Regions from separate parts of the Homo sapiens genome. Here regions 2, 3 and 4 are each linked to region 1. Evidence: promoter capture Hi-C in 16 types of primary human blood cells and fetal thymus (Javierre and others, 2016). All regions are on one chromosome and are shown on one strand. The core of a region is centred on a gene start or on the middle of the fragment in contact, and the rest is flanking DNA. Distances in the headings are between cores, read along the strand shown. Region 1 holds the start of SLC46A1 (solute carrier family 46 member 1). Region 2 holds the start of ALDOC (aldolase, fructose-bisphosphate C). Region 3 overlaps UNC119 (unc-119 lipid binding chaperone). Region 4 holds the start of SPAG5 (sperm associated antigen 5).

The links. The method cuts DNA at HindIII sites, captures the fragments that hold promoters and counts their contacts. A CHiCAGO score of 5 or more calls a contact.
Region 2: the fragment with the promoter of ALDOC here is called in contact with the fragment with the promoter of SLC46A1 in region 1 in 4 of 17 cell types (erythroblasts, megakaryocytes, naive CD4 T cells and 1 more); the score reaches 5.6 in erythroblasts.
Region 3: a contact is called between a fragment that was not itself captured here and the fragment with the promoter of SLC46A1 in region 1, in 2 of 17 cell types (M0 macrophages and M1 macrophages). The highest score is 5.3, in M0 macrophages.
Region 4: the fragment with the promoter of SPAG5 here is called in contact with the fragment with the promoter of SLC46A1 in region 1 in 5 of 17 cell types (endothelial precursors, naive CD8 T cells, total CD8 T cells and 2 more); the score reaches 7.6 in endothelial precursors.

Annotation. Positions count from the first base shown.
Region 1 is chr17:28,404,908-28,408,236 of GRCh38, forward strand. It overlaps SLC46A1 (solute carrier family 46 member 1), which reads right to left and starts at 1,305. Exons shown (of 5, transcript NM_080669.6): 1 at 980-1,305; 2 at 1-561. The coding sequence starts at 1,207. RefSeq lists an enhancer at 1-319 and silencers at 787-946, 1,147-1,486. The HindIII fragment of the contact is 6,961 bases long and covers 1-3,123 here.
Region 2 is chr17:28,575,196-28,578,784 of GRCh38, forward strand. It overlaps ALDOC (aldolase, fructose-bisphosphate C), which reads right to left and starts at 1,700. Exons shown (of 9, transcript NM_005165.3): 1 at 1,606-1,700; 2 at 226-349; 3 at 1-139. The coding sequence starts at 337. SPAG5 (sperm associated antigen 5) reads right to left here. Exons shown (of 24, transcript NM_006461.4): 20 at 3,477-3,557; 21 at 3,178-3,333; 22 at 3,023-3,097; 23 at 2,815-2,895; 24 at 2,379-2,575. The coding sequence ends at 2,504. RefSeq lists a silencer at 1,633-1,872 and an enhancer at 1,923-2,102. The HindIII fragment of the contact is 1,455 bases long and covers 514-1,968 here.
Region 3 is chr17:28,545,135-28,548,895 of GRCh38, forward strand. It overlaps UNC119 (unc-119 lipid binding chaperone), which reads right to left. Exons shown (of 5, transcript NM_005148.4): 2 at 3,458-3,571; 3 at 2,865-2,967; 4 at 2,543-2,715; 5 at 1,574-2,275. The coding sequence ends at 2,163. Among named protein-coding and RNA genes, the nearest start is that of UNC119, 5.6 kb to the right of the region's middle. RefSeq lists enhancers at 1,800-2,637, 2,475-2,584, 2,605-2,654, 2,638-3,474. The HindIII fragment of the contact is 1,297 bases long and covers 1,333-2,629 here.
Region 4 is chr17:28,596,861-28,600,483 of GRCh38, forward strand. It overlaps SPAG5 (sperm associated antigen 5), which reads right to left and starts at 2,165. Exons shown (of 24, transcript NM_006461.4): 1 at 2,036-2,165; 2 at 1,650-1,775. The coding sequence starts at 2,086. SPAG5-AS1 (SPAG5 antisense RNA 1) reads left to right here and starts at 2,273. Exons shown (of 3, transcript NR_040012.1): 1 at 2,273-2,386; 2 at 2,838-2,995. RefSeq lists enhancers at 1,827-2,371, 2,596-2,675 and a silencer at 2,076-2,385. The HindIII fragment of the contact is 7,511 bases long and covers 1-3,623 here.

The DNA of each region.
Region 1 (3,329 bases), core at 55-2,554:
GGACTTCTCTGGGGCGGGAGCCACATAGAGCTGGACAATGGATCGGTGGTGACGGAACGTGAAGAGCCGGGTGGACTTTGGCTCCTTTAAGGTCTCACCAAAGCAGAAAGCTGCATAGAGAGTCATGGCTATCAGCAAGGCCAAGGCCAGCCAGAAGGGGTTGGCATAACCCTGGGCCCGGAGCCAGTGGCCCCCGAGGAGGCTTGCCAGCATCCCAGCCACCCCGATGCTGGCTTCCAGCAGGGCCATCCGGAAGGTGCGGCTGCGACTGGAGCTGACATCTGCCACGGACGCAAAGCTAGCAGCCAGAAGGCCACCGAAGTCGCCGAGGAGGGCACAAAGGATGCGACCCAGCACGAAGTAGCCGACGTGGAGCTGCAGCTGCACCACAAAAACGGACACTAGGGCCTGGAGCAGCAGGCCCAGCGAGGCCAGCACTAGCAGCGGGCGGCGGCCCACACTGTCGCTCCAAGCTCCCAGCAGGGTGGACGAGAAGAGCCCCACCAGGAAGCCGCCCACGTTCATGTAGAGGGTCCAGTGGGAGGTAAGGGTCTCCACTTCCTGTAGGGGCACAATGACCAGGGTGCGGTTCCTCACTCTGGGTTCCACAATCCCCAAATCCTCGCCATCCCGGGAGCTACAGGGATGAGGACTTCCTTTGGAGCCCTAAACCTCAGAGAATCTTAGCACAGCTTTCAAAATCTGCCAGTGGAGAGGGGGAAGGACATGGACCAAGGCCCCATTCCCTTTCCTTTCCCCCCCCTTTTGTTAACCTGCAAGGCCAGACTTTAGCTCAGCTTTTCGCATCCCACCCGCTGAGGTTCTCGGTCAGGCCCCTTTGCTCTGGTCCCGCCCACCATCCAAAATGCACCCTCCCTCCAGTTACCCGCCACTACCATTACGCAGGCCCCGCCCCTCCGCTGCCCCCACGCTCCAGACCAGGGCCCTCCACCTGCCAGGCTCCTCGCCGCCCCGCTACCTGCATGGTGGGGTCCGCGCTGCGGTTGCTGCAGCCCCCCCTTTGGCGGGTGCCATTGTAGCCGAGGTCGGCGCTGAAGCGGTGCCACAGATACTGCGTGGTGAGCGGGCCCTGCAGGACCAAGGCAAAGTTGGCCAGGAAGACCAGCGGCTCTACCGGGCCCCGGCACAGCACGGCAGCCGCAGGGCGGGCGCGGGGCTTTTCCGGGGGGCTCGCGCTCCCCTCCATGTGCGTGCGCGGCGGAGCTGTCGCCAGGCGGGCGGCGGGGCGCGCGAGCGACTCGCTGCCTGGGACCAGCGACGCGTGGCGTGGGGCTTGCGCTGTCTGCGCCTGCGCCCGGCGTCCCTCCTTAAATGTCCGGCGGGGAGGGGCCTGTGACCTGAGGCCACCGGACTCTCGCCGCGGGTGCACCTGGCTGGGCGTGGGCCAGCGAGGGGCCCGGCACCCCCAGCCCGCGGGATGACCTCACCTGTAAAGTGTGCGTAGACACCGCCCTGCAGCCCTCCCTCCCGGCCCAGACACACCACAGATAACAAGAATATCAACAATTAACATGTATTGACCACTTACTATGTGCTGGGCACGGTATTAAACCCTTTTTGTGCGTTGGTCTCCCGATAACTCTACAGGCTAGCCAATATTAACCATCGCTATCTACCGCTGAGGAAACGAGGTCATCGGGTACTCAAGGCAGAGCTGGAAGAGCACATGACTCCTGATGCTGCTGATGTTCTGCGCTGTAACAGAGAGGCAGCTGGAGAGGATCGGAGTGGGCTGAGCCCAGCTGCCTGGGTTGGAGCACCTAGGCTCTGCCACTACCTTCGGCATGCCACTTACCACCCTGAGCCTCTGTTTTTTCATCTGTAAAATGGAGTTGCTAACAAAACATGTCTCAAAAAGTTGTGGAAAAGCAGTGTCTGGTATATTCAAAGTGCTATTATTGCTATTAACAGGCTGTCACGTCTGGGAGTGGTGGCTCACACCTGTAATCCCAGCACTTTTGGAGGCTGAGGCGCATGGATCGCTTGAACCCAGGAGTTCGAGACCAATCTGGGCAACATGGTAAAACCCTGTCTCTACAAAAAATACACAAAAATTAGCCAGGCGTAGTAGCAGATACCTGTAGTCCCAGGTACTCGGGTGGCTGAGGTGGGAGGATCAATTGAGCCCAGGAGGCAGAGGTTGCAGTGGGCTGAGATCGCACCACTGCACTCCAGCCTGGGTGACAGAGCAAGACCCTGTCTCAAAAAATATAAAATAAAAATAAAATAAAAAACAAGCTGTCACTTGCTCCACTCCTGCCCTAGGATCTTTTCCTGGGAAACTAGTCTTGTTTCTGGGGTCAGGCAGGGCCTGGCTCTGCAGTTCCCTTAGAGAAGATGGGGGAGGGCCTGGGAGGTCCTTGGGTGTGAACCTATGCTCCTGGGTGGCTCCCATTATAGGAATTAGGCCAGAAGGCAGTCACCTGCTCTGCTGCTGAGGAGGTCAGACCCTGTCTGGGCCTCTGTTTTATTGCCTGTAAAAAGGAACAGCATTACCTTCCTTACTCCCCTATCTTTCATTCATTCAGCTCATTTACTGAGTGCCCCTTACGTGCCAGGCACTGTGCTGGGGGACTCCGGGACCACAACAGGAAAGGAAATAGACAAAGCCCTCACCAGGCCCGTTAGTTTCTAGAATGGTGGGAGAGGAAAAATAGTCAAAGAATCCTACTAATTGATACAAAATTCCAACCGTGGAAAATAGTTTTGAACTCCAAGGGTGCTAATTCAGGGGCTGGAGGTAGGGGGAGCAGAATCAGGAAAGGCCACCTTCCCTGAGAACAGAGCAGCTGAGTGGGTTTCTGGAGGCAGGTCCTGACAGGCCTGATTCTTGGGAGGATGGATGGCTCCAATTCTGGCCACTGTGACTGTGCCTGGGCCTGTTGGAGCTTGTTAGCTACCCCACCTCCCCTGAGCCAGGAGTCCGAGACTCAGGATGGGTAGGTGCTGGCTAGATACTAGTGAACTGAATAACCTCCCCCTGCAAGCTGCCCCCACCTGTGGTCCCCTAGAGAGAGGAAATTCCACATTAAACATTCAAGCCTCTGGATTGGCTCCACTCTCCTCCCTCCCCTTCCAACTCCTCCCTACCACTTACACAAAAGCTTGGCCCAGTTAGGTCAGCTGCAGTGAGGGAGGGGTACTTGGCTAAATCCTTGGAATTATTTCTTAGATAAAGAACTAAGGCTAGGAGAGGCCAAGGTCCCTCATCAGGAATGGGACAGGGTGTGGCTCATCCCAGAGCCAGAGCCTGCAGTACCCACTAGGGTAGAGGTCTTTTCTAACTCCTTGAAAACAGCTGCAATCAG
Region 2 (3,589 bases), core at 450-2,949, 170 kb after region 1:
AGGGTCTCATGGAAGAAAATGACGCCTCCAATGCACTTTTTCACACGGTCATCAGCACTGAACAGGACCTGGCGGTACAGCCGGCGGTTCTCCTCTGTGTTTTCCACCCCAATTTGGCTCAGCCGCTTGGCCATGCTGCCTAGGGGCAAACAAAGAGAGGCAGTGAGAACATCCCCAGGGTCCCCTAGCCACCTGTACCCTACCTGGCTACAGATGTCCACTTACCTACAGACTCATCCGCAGCCAGAATGCCTTTGCCCGGGGCTACAATCCGCAGGGCAATGTCAGACAACTCCTTCTTCTGCTCAGCAGAAAGGGCTGGGTACGAGTGAGGCATGGTGACAGCTCCCTGGAGTGGAGACAAGATAAAAAAGCCAGACCTCACCCTCTGCTGCCTCTCCTGGCCAGATGGGCCAAATGGCCTCCCCATCAAGCAAGGGGCTGGGAACAGGGCAGCAGTCCTTGGCATGAGTCCTGGGCATCAAGTGGCACCAGTCCTTCTGACAGCTAGCAAGCTTAGGGCTCCAGTTCCCACATCTCCTTTTGTCCCTGGTAGGCATCCTTCCCAGCCCTGGGGAAAGATGCAGGGTGGGGGTGGGGAGGTGAGCAGCCCTGAAGCCACAGCTCTTCTGATAAATCTGCTGCCCAATCAAGGATGCCAACCCTTCTTTCACTGAACTTGGTCCCTTGTTGAGGTAGGCAAAAGTCCTGGCCTTTCCAGCTTCCCTTTTCTCATCCTCCACAGGACCCCTAGGGAAAGTGTACTTACTTCCAAGGCTTCAGAATGAGGCAAAAGTACTTATTGCCACCCTCTTCTCTCAGCTTCTAGAGGAAAAGGTTGGAAGAACAGGTAGGGAGTAGGAGTGGCACAAATACCAGTCACAGGCTCCTGCAGCTTCTCCTTTTCTGTACTCCAAACCTGCCTGCCTATGCCTATTGCCTATTCCCACCCAGTACCAGAGGTTGGCCCCAGTGGGGCTGCAGTGATGTAGGAAAGAGGGCCCAGCGGGTCAGCTGTGTTAGTGTGTGGAGACTAGGGCTAGTGACACCTCCGGGTCATCTCTGTGCCCAGGAAGCACTTCACCTGTTTGGCAGGAGGATAGCAATAGGAAGCACTTCAATTCCCCACAACTCAGACACCCAGACGGGAGGGCAGAGGACCAAGGCTGAAAGGAGTAGAGAGCCTGAGAGAGAGATGAGACTGAGGGGAGCTAGTGGTGATGCAGGCTAACCAGTCAGCGGGAGAGACCTAGACCGGGGGGCAGAGAAGGCGGGAGAACTGGAGAGAGGACCTAGCCTAGGAGGAGAGGGAGCAGGCTGAGAAGGAAATGCTCTGGGTAGGAGAGACAGACTCCAAGGAAAAATCCAACAAGTAGAGGAGGATTTGGGATTGGAAAAGCTGAGGTCCAGCTGGGAGAGCTGAAGAGGGATAGAACAGAAGAGGTTGAGCCATGGGGTTTCAAGTACGCGGAAAGGAGCAAAGATGTTAGGAAAGGGTCGAAAGGGCACATCCCGGAGTCCCAGGTAGCAGGACGAGGATGGCAGGGGAAGAGCCAAGGAAATGAAGCGGAGATGTTGAGTGGCTCCCGCCTTGCCTGGCCTTACCTGTGCGCAGCCAGTTAGCAGCCGCAGCCACAAGCACAGCTCGGGTTCTGATCCGCAAACAGATGAGGCTGCAGCCCTGGCTCCCTCTGGTAAATGAGGCTGCGGATGTCGCAGAGCTACGTGACTCCTCCGGGGGCGTGGCCTGCATGCCCCGCCCTGACCACACCCCCTCCCCAGGACTGGTGTCCGGGGCAAGACCACGCCCTCAGAGGCGGGGCGGCGAGGTGGAGTGAGCGCCCCGCCAGGCATCCGTGGCTGTTAGGGACTGCCCTCCCACCTCGGGGAGCCTGGCCATGACCTTGCGTTCATTTCTGCCACAATCCCTTTACCACGTGCCGGGCACTTGCTGGATGCTGGGGATTAAGCTTAGTCTGGTGAAGAGGAGGCACCAGAACAGTAACAACAGGTTGAGTAGGTGGGGCAGAAGCATCTTCAAGGTGCCCAAGTTCAGGGCAGGAAGTAATGAACTGAGCTTCTCTGTCCTCACCCCCATATTTGCCAGGGTATACCCCCGAGGGGGCTGGGGAAAGTAAGAGAATGAAGCCTTTCTGTTTCCTCCAGGCGGTGAGCCAGGGAACAAGCAGTCCAGTGCCCAGAGTTTTGGTGAAAGCAGAGGAAGGGAGGAAGGGCAGGCAGCCTTGGCTTTGGATGCAGCAGGAGGTGGAGAGGGATCTATGGAGGGTGCCCAGGCAGGAGGCCCAAGCTGCTTCTTCCCTGACTTCATCATCCGCCCCCTCTCACCCAAAAAGTAAGATTCCGTAAGCTTGGAGAAATTCATTAAATACACTTTATTTAAATAGCATTTATCTCAGTTGGCTCTATGCCAGTTGGTCTTGGTATTGGGGTAAGGGGGTATTGCAGGTAAAAAGAGGTGAAGCAGATTCTGGCTTTCAGTTTCTTAGCTCAGAAATTCCAGCAATCCCTGTAGTTCTTTGCATCCCCTCACCACCTCTGGAATAGAGAGCAGGGTCTGGGAAGAGAGGCAGAAAACGCAGCTCAGGACCACAGACTTAAGGCCCAGGGCTCCCAGCCCCAGGAGGCAGCCGCTGAATTAGAGGGGAGAAAACAGACACCACAGAGAAGCCTGCAATAGTGATTCAGGCCCAGCTCTCAGCACAGGCTGGGAACCAGATCTGTGCTCATTAGTACCTCCTGGGGCCAGGCCTTGTACCAGGTTCATTAGTGATATCACCTCCCTCCTGCCTATACCTTATAAATATGCTGAACAATGTCATCTAGTTTTTCTAACTCCTTGTCAGAGCGCCGAAGGTTCTCCTCTAGGATATTTCTCTAGAAAGCAAACAGATTTTATAAGTCCTATGCATAAAAGAGCAAACTTGGTAGGACAGGGGAAACATGGCGGGGCATTTGTTAACGATGGTAGGAAATGGCCCTGGAATGGCATGGACATTCTTACATGGCTCTGGAACTTGATCATGAGTTTTTCCTTCTCATTTTTCATCTCCAGGAACATCACTCTCAGTTTGTCCACCTAGAAATATGTCCAGATCAACAGGGGTACAGCCTGGGGTCCCCACCTGCTGTCCAGCTCCTCTGTTAACTCTGAGTCACCTCCTGAGAGAGCCACACTTTCTCCTGGATCCAATTGGTGGCCATAGGCTGGCAGTTGGAGTCCAGCTGGCCTGCCAGGGCCTCCTGGAGCACTTTGGTCTCTGTCTCCGCACGCCGAAGTGAGCGGGTAAGGTGGGTCACCTCCTCTCTAAGGCTCTGGGAATGAGAATGGAGAGGTGTCCAATAGGACATAAGGATAGACAACATGTGGTGAACAAAAGCAAACCATTTCTCATACTTGGGATCCTGGCTGACCAGTAACACAGAAGGCAAAGGCCTGGGCATGATGGTGAACATACTATGAGCTCGCCACTCTTGTCTATCTGTTCTAGGATCTTCTCATTCTGCTGCTGTATCACTTCCTGGAGCTCCTTTTCATTCTGTGAGGGAAAGGGAGGTGAGAAGACACATG
Region 3 (3,761 bases), core at 731-3,230, 140 kb after region 1:
TCTTTGAGGATACTGACCTAATTCAGTTTCTCTTTCTCTCTCACCAGATTCCTGCAGCACCCTCCTCATCCTCACTGCCCCCCTGCCTTTAGTATGGTAGTGCATGGAGCCGGACTGCCTGGATTCAAGTCCTGGCTCTGCCACTTCATAGCTGTGCAACGTTGGCTGGGTACATTAACCTCTCTGGACCTACATTTTCTGTAAAATGGGCATCATAATAGTGCCTTCCTCAGAAATGACCATGTTTATGAGTTAACACATGTAGAGCACCCAGCCTGGCACTCAGTAAATCTTGGCTATTAGTGTCATTCTTTCCAATCCACCATTCACTCAGCAGCCAGAGATAATCTGACCAGGTCATGCCCACTTAATCCTCCACAGGGGCTCCCCACTTCTCAGAAGCCCTGCTCCTAAGGCTCTGCCAATCTGTCTTCTTTTCACATCATATTGACTCTTGAACACACCTAGGCTTATGCCCATAATCCTGGCACTTTGGGAGGCCAAGGCAGGAAAATCCCTTGAGCCCAGGAGTTTGAGAGGGAGACCCCATCTCAAATAAATAAGTAAACAAACAAACAAACACCTGACAAATCTTGCCTCTGAGCCTTTGTTTATGCTGTTCCCTGTGCCTAAGCACTCTTCCCCATCAATTTCCATCACAAGCACCTGCTCCAGTGCTACCTCCTCTAAAAATCCTCCCCAGAACCCTCCACACAGAACGACTCTGATTCTTGCTCTCCGTGTCCCCAGTCCTTTTTTTTTCCCTAGGGACGAGTATGTGTTCCTTGTGTCTCACTCATTTCAGAATTCCCAGAATTCAGTGCAGATCCTAGCTCCACCCCACTTCCCCCAGCAAGGGCTTCACAGAATCAAGCTGAATGCCAGCACTTCTGGGCCTCCTAGGGCCAGAGCTCCTCAGCCCAGAGGGTGCGTCAGCTCTGGGCATATCTGAAGGAGGGCCTGAAACTGTAGGGTGTGCTCTCTGCCCACCTCAGTTCCTGAATTTCCTCCATTAAGCAGCCCCCTCCTCTGAGTCTGGGGTGGGGGTGGAGGCTGAGGGCAGTGTTATGTGCAGGGCTACCCAGGCATGGGGGCTCCCCAAGGCAGCTGAGGGCAAGGAGATGGCTCCAGGCCTTAGCCAAAGCCCTGCCACCGTCTATCATGAGGGCTAAAAACACAACCCAGTGGTCCTAGTGGCCTCTGGGGTTCAGGGAAGGTAGCGTGGAGGACAAGGCCAAACCCCCACCCCCCACACCTTCCCCTTGCACCCTGGAGTTCAGGGCCTTTGTTTCGGCCTCTGTTCTGCCAGGGTTGGCTCTGACTTTGGGCCAAAGCTTCCCCTCTCAGGGTCTGGGTCTCCTTCATCACAAGAAAGACCCTCTCCAGCTCCATCATGTTCTAAATGCTGACTCTATATGGTGTCAGGGTACAGAGAATCAGGGGACAGGAAGACTAAGGGGTGAGAGTGCACTGGAATGTGGGAGGTAGGAGAAATTTTTACTGCCTTAAGCACATTCCTGCCTATCCCTGCTCCCTTCTTTGCCCATACACACAGAGGCTGGCCACACCAGAGAACAGAAAAGGAAAAAGTTTATTGAAAACTATATACAGTTGGTCCAGCTCCTACCATGGGCTGCAATCTCAGCCAGTCCCTCCCACACCTTAGGCAGTGTCTTGGCCCCTCATGGGGAGGGATGGGGCTAGGCCTAGGGCCCAGACTCCCTTGGGTGGCTTGGCAGCTGGAGCCCACCGTGGATCTTTGTAAATTTACAACTCTAAATGGCCTGAAGGTAGTGGGCAGGGGACAGGGAATGGATCCCTGCCTGATCTAGTCACAGCCTTGATAGGGGAACACTATTCTGAAACTTGGGCCCAAGTAGGGCCCAGCTAAGTTGTCCGGAAGTCCTGACTGCTCCTCTCACAGGCCTTCCTAGACGTGGAGGCAAACAGCCTCCCTACGACCCCACCCCATGTAGCAGGCCGCATGGGCTTCATGGGCTTGACTGGGGACACCAGGTACCCTTCCTCCCAACATTGACTCAGGGTCCGGAGCTCCTGGAGAACTCCCCAAGCAGAGGACTTGGGGTTGAGGGGTGAGCGTTGGGGAGGTCACAGCTCCCAGCCCAGAACTGGAGCCTCCTGGGGTCAGGGCAGCCGTGGGGTCAGGGTGTCCCGCTGTAGGAATAGTCTGCTTTATTGTGCATCACCAGCCGGTCATCCACGAAGTAGAAGCTGTCAGACTGGGTCTCATACGGGTGGCGGATCATCTCGCTGACTGCAAGAGAGGCCCAGCCAGGCCGGGCAAAGGTCAGGAGCTTGAGTCCCGCCACTGCAGGGGCTTCAGGACTGGGGTACAGGGACAGCCAAACAGCCTGAAATATCCCCAGCCTCTTTCTCTACGGATGATATGGGAATGGTGGCAGACACAGAAGAGCCCCAGGGTGGGGAGAAATGGGATCAGACCCACAAGTCCCTCTCCCTCCCGCAGCTCAGTCTCTAGACGCCCCCACTTCCCCACTCCCAGAAGACCCTGCCCGCGCACTCAGCTCCTCGGAGAGAGGGGGGAAGTCGTAAATGTGCTCGCAGGTGTTCTTGCTGCTGGGGATGCAGAAGCCAAAGTGGAAGTCGAAGCTTTTGAGTAGCTGGTTGCGGAAGTAGTGCCTCTCGATCATGCGGAAGTTGTTGACAGGCTTGTCTCCCACTGTGAACTCCACCCTGAGCAAGAAAAGGAGGCAGGGCTAAGTCTGTCCTTGAAGTCAACTAGCCAGCCAGGCTCAGGACAGGCCACCCCTACGAGAGGCTGAGAAGGGCCCACTCACACCCTCTCCCTCACCCCCACCACCACCCATAGCCCAGCGACTCACGTGGCTCCCACCTGCCTCAGGCGGAGGAAGGCAGGCGTGAACTGGTAGCGGACAAAGCGCCCAGCATTGGGGTCCAGGTCCCGCCGGTTGATGGGCAACCGTTCTGCAATGTACCCCAGCTGGGGCTCAGTGGGCTTCAGGCTGGGCCCTTGTCCACCCAGGGTTCTACCCTTGGGTCCCCATCTATCTGATTTTTTTTAAACTCCCCAAGAAATTCCGGGGCACACTGAGGGCTCAGACCATTGGCCAAATAGTGCCACCTAGGGGTTCTAGGTCTGCATGTTCCCAATCGCCACTGTGCTTCCCCGGGCCACAGGATGCTGAGGCCTGGGACCCGTAGGACTGCAGTTCCCAGAGAGCCCTGCAGAGGGCAGGTTGGCAGGGACCGAAGGGGTAGGGCTGACCTCGCAAGATGTCCAGCCTCAGAAACATATGGGAAGGAAAAGAAAGGGCCCCCCTGCCTGCAGACTCCTGAGAATGCTGGGGTCCAAGCCCCAGCTCTGTGGACTCCTCTGTGGCCCAAGGATTCCCTGGGCAGCCCACTCCGCAGCTCCTATCTGCCTCCCCATCAATGGCCCACCCAGCCCACTCACCTGAGACTGGGGGCTTCTTGATTTCAAAGAGGACAGTGCCTGAGTCCATGTCCCGAATCTTAAACCTGACAAAGTCGATCTTGTAGATATTCTCCTCAGGGGAGCAGAGGTAGTCTAGGGGAAACAGGCAGCTGAGCAAGGAAGGGGCCGCAAAGCCCCTGCTGCCAGGTCAGCTTGTGTGGGACCCCAGAGTAGCTACCATCTTCTCATCCCTGGGATCACTGCCCTCTGGAAAGAGGGACCTCAGTCCCTGCCCTTGGGGTACACCCCCAGTGTGGAAGAGACATAACTCCGCCATGGGGAT
Region 4 (3,623 bases), core at 915-3,414, 190 kb after region 1:
TTTGGAAGGCGGAGGCGGGCAGATCACCTGAGGTCAGGAGTTCGAGACCAGCCTGACCAACATGGAGAAACCCGTCTTTACTGAAAATACAAAAATTAGCTGGGTGTGGTGGCACATGCCGGAGGCTGAGACAGAAGAATCGCTTGAACCCGGGAGGCAGAGGTTGCGGTGAGCCGAGATCGCGCCATTGGACTCCAACCTGGGCAACAAGAGCGAAACTCCATCTCAAAAAAAAATTAATTAAATTAAATTAAATTAAATATTCAATTATTCAGGCCAGGCACAGTGGCTCACACCTGTAATCCCAGCACTTTGGGAGGCCGAGGCGGGCGGACCACTTGAGGTCAGGAGTTTGAGACCAGCCTGGCCAACATTGTGAAACCCTGTCTCTACTAAAAATACAAAAAATTAGCCAGGCGTGGTGGTGTGCACCTGTAATCCCAGTTACTCAGGAGCCTGAGGCAGGAGAATCGCTTGAGCCCTGGAGGCGGAGATTGCAGTGAGCCAAGATCACGCCACTGCACTCCAGCCTGGGTGACAGAGCAAGACTCCGTCTCAAAAACAAAAAAATTCAATTCTTCAGTCACCTCAGCCACGTTTTAAGTGCTCAATAACCATGTGACTAGTAGTTACCATGCTGGACAGCACAGATTATCAAATATTTCCCTCATCCCAGAAAGTTCTATTGGACAGTAGGTATTTTGCAACTCTTTCAAGAAAGACTGCTATGCTATCATCATACTTCTGTTACTCAGGATGTCATCTGTCTATACACTCTTCTTTCCTCCTCATACCTATTTTATTGATATCCCATCTCCTTCCAAAAATAATTCATATGCATGAAAATGAATAGATACGATTAATGAAATAACAAAGTCATGGTCAAAAAAGAGGAAGCAAAACTTCCTATACAGCTATAACAGTAGCTGTATGTGATGATCCAGTTTGGCCTTGAGCTTTCTAGAAGGCAGAGCAAGAGGGAAAATATGGTAAACTACATAGTTCTCATTATCAGAAAGAAAAGGATAGCAATTTCTTCAGGAAGACAATTTTTCCAGGCAGTTAGTCCTAAAGCCTTTCTTGGAGGAATCTTATACAGGAGTCAAGCTGCTTCCTTGACAAGTTTTGACAGCAACTGAAATGCAGTTTCTACATGGCTACGTCTCTCAAAACGTTTAACAAAAGTACAAATCAGTGAGGGCAATTCTGCAAGGAGCTAGTTTAAACTAAGGTGATTCAAGTACCCTACCTTCCAGTGGTGTAACTTGATCCCAGGAGAGTTCTAACTACCTCCTAGAGTAAATGGATATTGCCTCAATCTTGCAGGTGACTGACCTTTCCGTAAGTGACCCCATGTTGGAGGAAGAGCACTAATCAGGGTGGTAGGATTTCTCAATAGTTTGATAAAGGTCGAAGGGAGGAGGAGGAGGTAATAAAAACTAACAGCTAAACAGAGATTCAAGTTCTCACTGGATTTCCTTTAACCACCCTAGGGCACCTCTCTGTTGGCCTGAATAGCTGTAAATGGATGTCACCGACGTAGAAGACTTCATTATCGTTATTAATTATTGTAGCCCTGGCCCTCTGTTCCCCTGAGCTCTCACCCTGGGCAAACAGCCCAGTCGAGAAGCTGTCCAGGCGAATCTCACCTGCAGCCCCAGCTTGCACAGTGATGGGGTCAGCGAGGAGCAAGCGGGGGATCTTTTTCCAGAGTTGGTGAGGGCACCGGGCTGCAGGGTAAGTTCACGGAGAGGAGTTCTCATAGATGGTTTTCCCTGAGAAAGAAACCAAGAAAGAGGGCGAGTGTGAGGAAGCCTGGGTTCTGCCAGCCCGCCCCTCCTCCCTCCCTAAGAAGCCCAAAATGCGATTAGAAGAGTACGCTCGCACCCTAGTCGCGCAGGAGCAGCAAGGCGAACAAAGACTCCACAAGCCCCCAACCCCGGGCTCGACCCAACTTTCCAGGACAGTAGACACGGCCGGTGCCCCCGCGACAGCAGCCCGGCCCAGTTCTCTCCGCCAGAGATCTCCCGCTTACCGTCTGGGGCGAAGGCGACAGGCTGAGGCTCAGTTTTTTCACTCGCCACATCTTCAACCAGAAGGCAGGCCTATCACGTCTCAGACCAAGTCGAGGACGCCATGTTCACCCGCCGTCTGTGTTTGAACCTGCTCTGCGCTTCCTGGTTGGCTGCTTCAGGCGCGCGCGTACGCTCGGGGGTAGAGCCCGGGGGGCGGGGCCCGCGTTGACCACGCCCCCGGCCCTGCCTGCCCCTCCGTTGTCGAGCGTTTTCCGCTGACGGAGCCCTCACCTCAGACACCGGCGGTAGGGCTGGATGCGGGCCCGGCCCAGGACCGGTCTTCTGTCCTCACACCGGGGAGGACCACGCAGGTAGCTGGAGAGTCCAGGAGTCCATCCCTCCTGCTTCCAGCGGACCTCCTCACATCCATGGTGTTCATATCCAAGTTGTCTCCGTGGATGGAGAAGAGGAATCCTCTCCCTAGGTCTCCCTCAGTCCTCTCCAGCCGCAGCCTTGACGGGAAAGAGCCGGCCAGGGAGTCTAGAAGCCGAAGCGGTGCCGAGCGGCTTCCCTAGGCTTGGTGGGCCCGCGTCCGGGACGGCCCGGGCCGTGGTTCTCGACCTGGGCTGTAATGTCTCCAGAGTTTCTGGGCTTTTCCTGGGACTTACTCAGGCCGGCTACCAGTTTACTGGGCTAACCGCCTACATGTATTGAACATTGAGTGTGTGCCTGGCGCTATGCCGAATGCCGTGTAGTAGCTCATTTAATGCGCATAAGGACCTACGTAGTGAGAAATACTATAAATATCCCCATTTGTGACAGGAAGGAGCTGAGTCAGAGAGACCGTGTGTAATTTGCTCAGCGTCACACAGATAGTAAACGGCAGAGCCGCTCTTCCTCCCTGTCCCGCCAGCTCCTGCCTTCTGCTGTCTTGGATCTCCTATGCACGGGAAACCTGTTGAAGGTAGGACAGCCGAAAGGTCAGTATTCAGAGTGAGCCGTTTGCGAAGGTGTGTGTGCTTTGCACACTCACGGCGCCCTGTTTACACTCTGCAAGTCTTAATACATAGGGGGAAAGCAGCAGTCCAAAGAGGAGGAACTATGATGTTATAAACTGCAGCGTCCTCAGGGACGGGCTCCTCTAGCATTGTGTTGTCCAGTACGTTAGCCCTAGCCATAGTGGCTTTTGAGCACTTCAGATGTGACTAGTCCCAGTGGGAATGTGCTATAAATGTAAAACACTGTACAAACTGGATTTCAAACACGTCGTATGAAAAAAAGAATGCAAAATATCGCCAGGTGCGGTGGCTCATGCCTGTAATCCCAGCACGGAGGAGACAGAGGCAGGAGGATCCTTTAAGCCCAGGAGTTCGAGACCTGCCTCGGCAATATAGTGAGACCTATGTCTACAAAAAAAAAATTTGGGCCGGGCACGGTGGCTCACGCCTATAATCCCGCACTTCGGGAGGCCGAGGCAGGCGGATCACCTGAGGTCAGGAGTTCGAGACCAGCCTGCCCAACACGGCGAAACCCCGTTTCTACTAAAAATACAAAAATTAGCCAGGTGTGGTGGCACACGCCTGTAATCCCAGCTACTTGGGAGGCTGA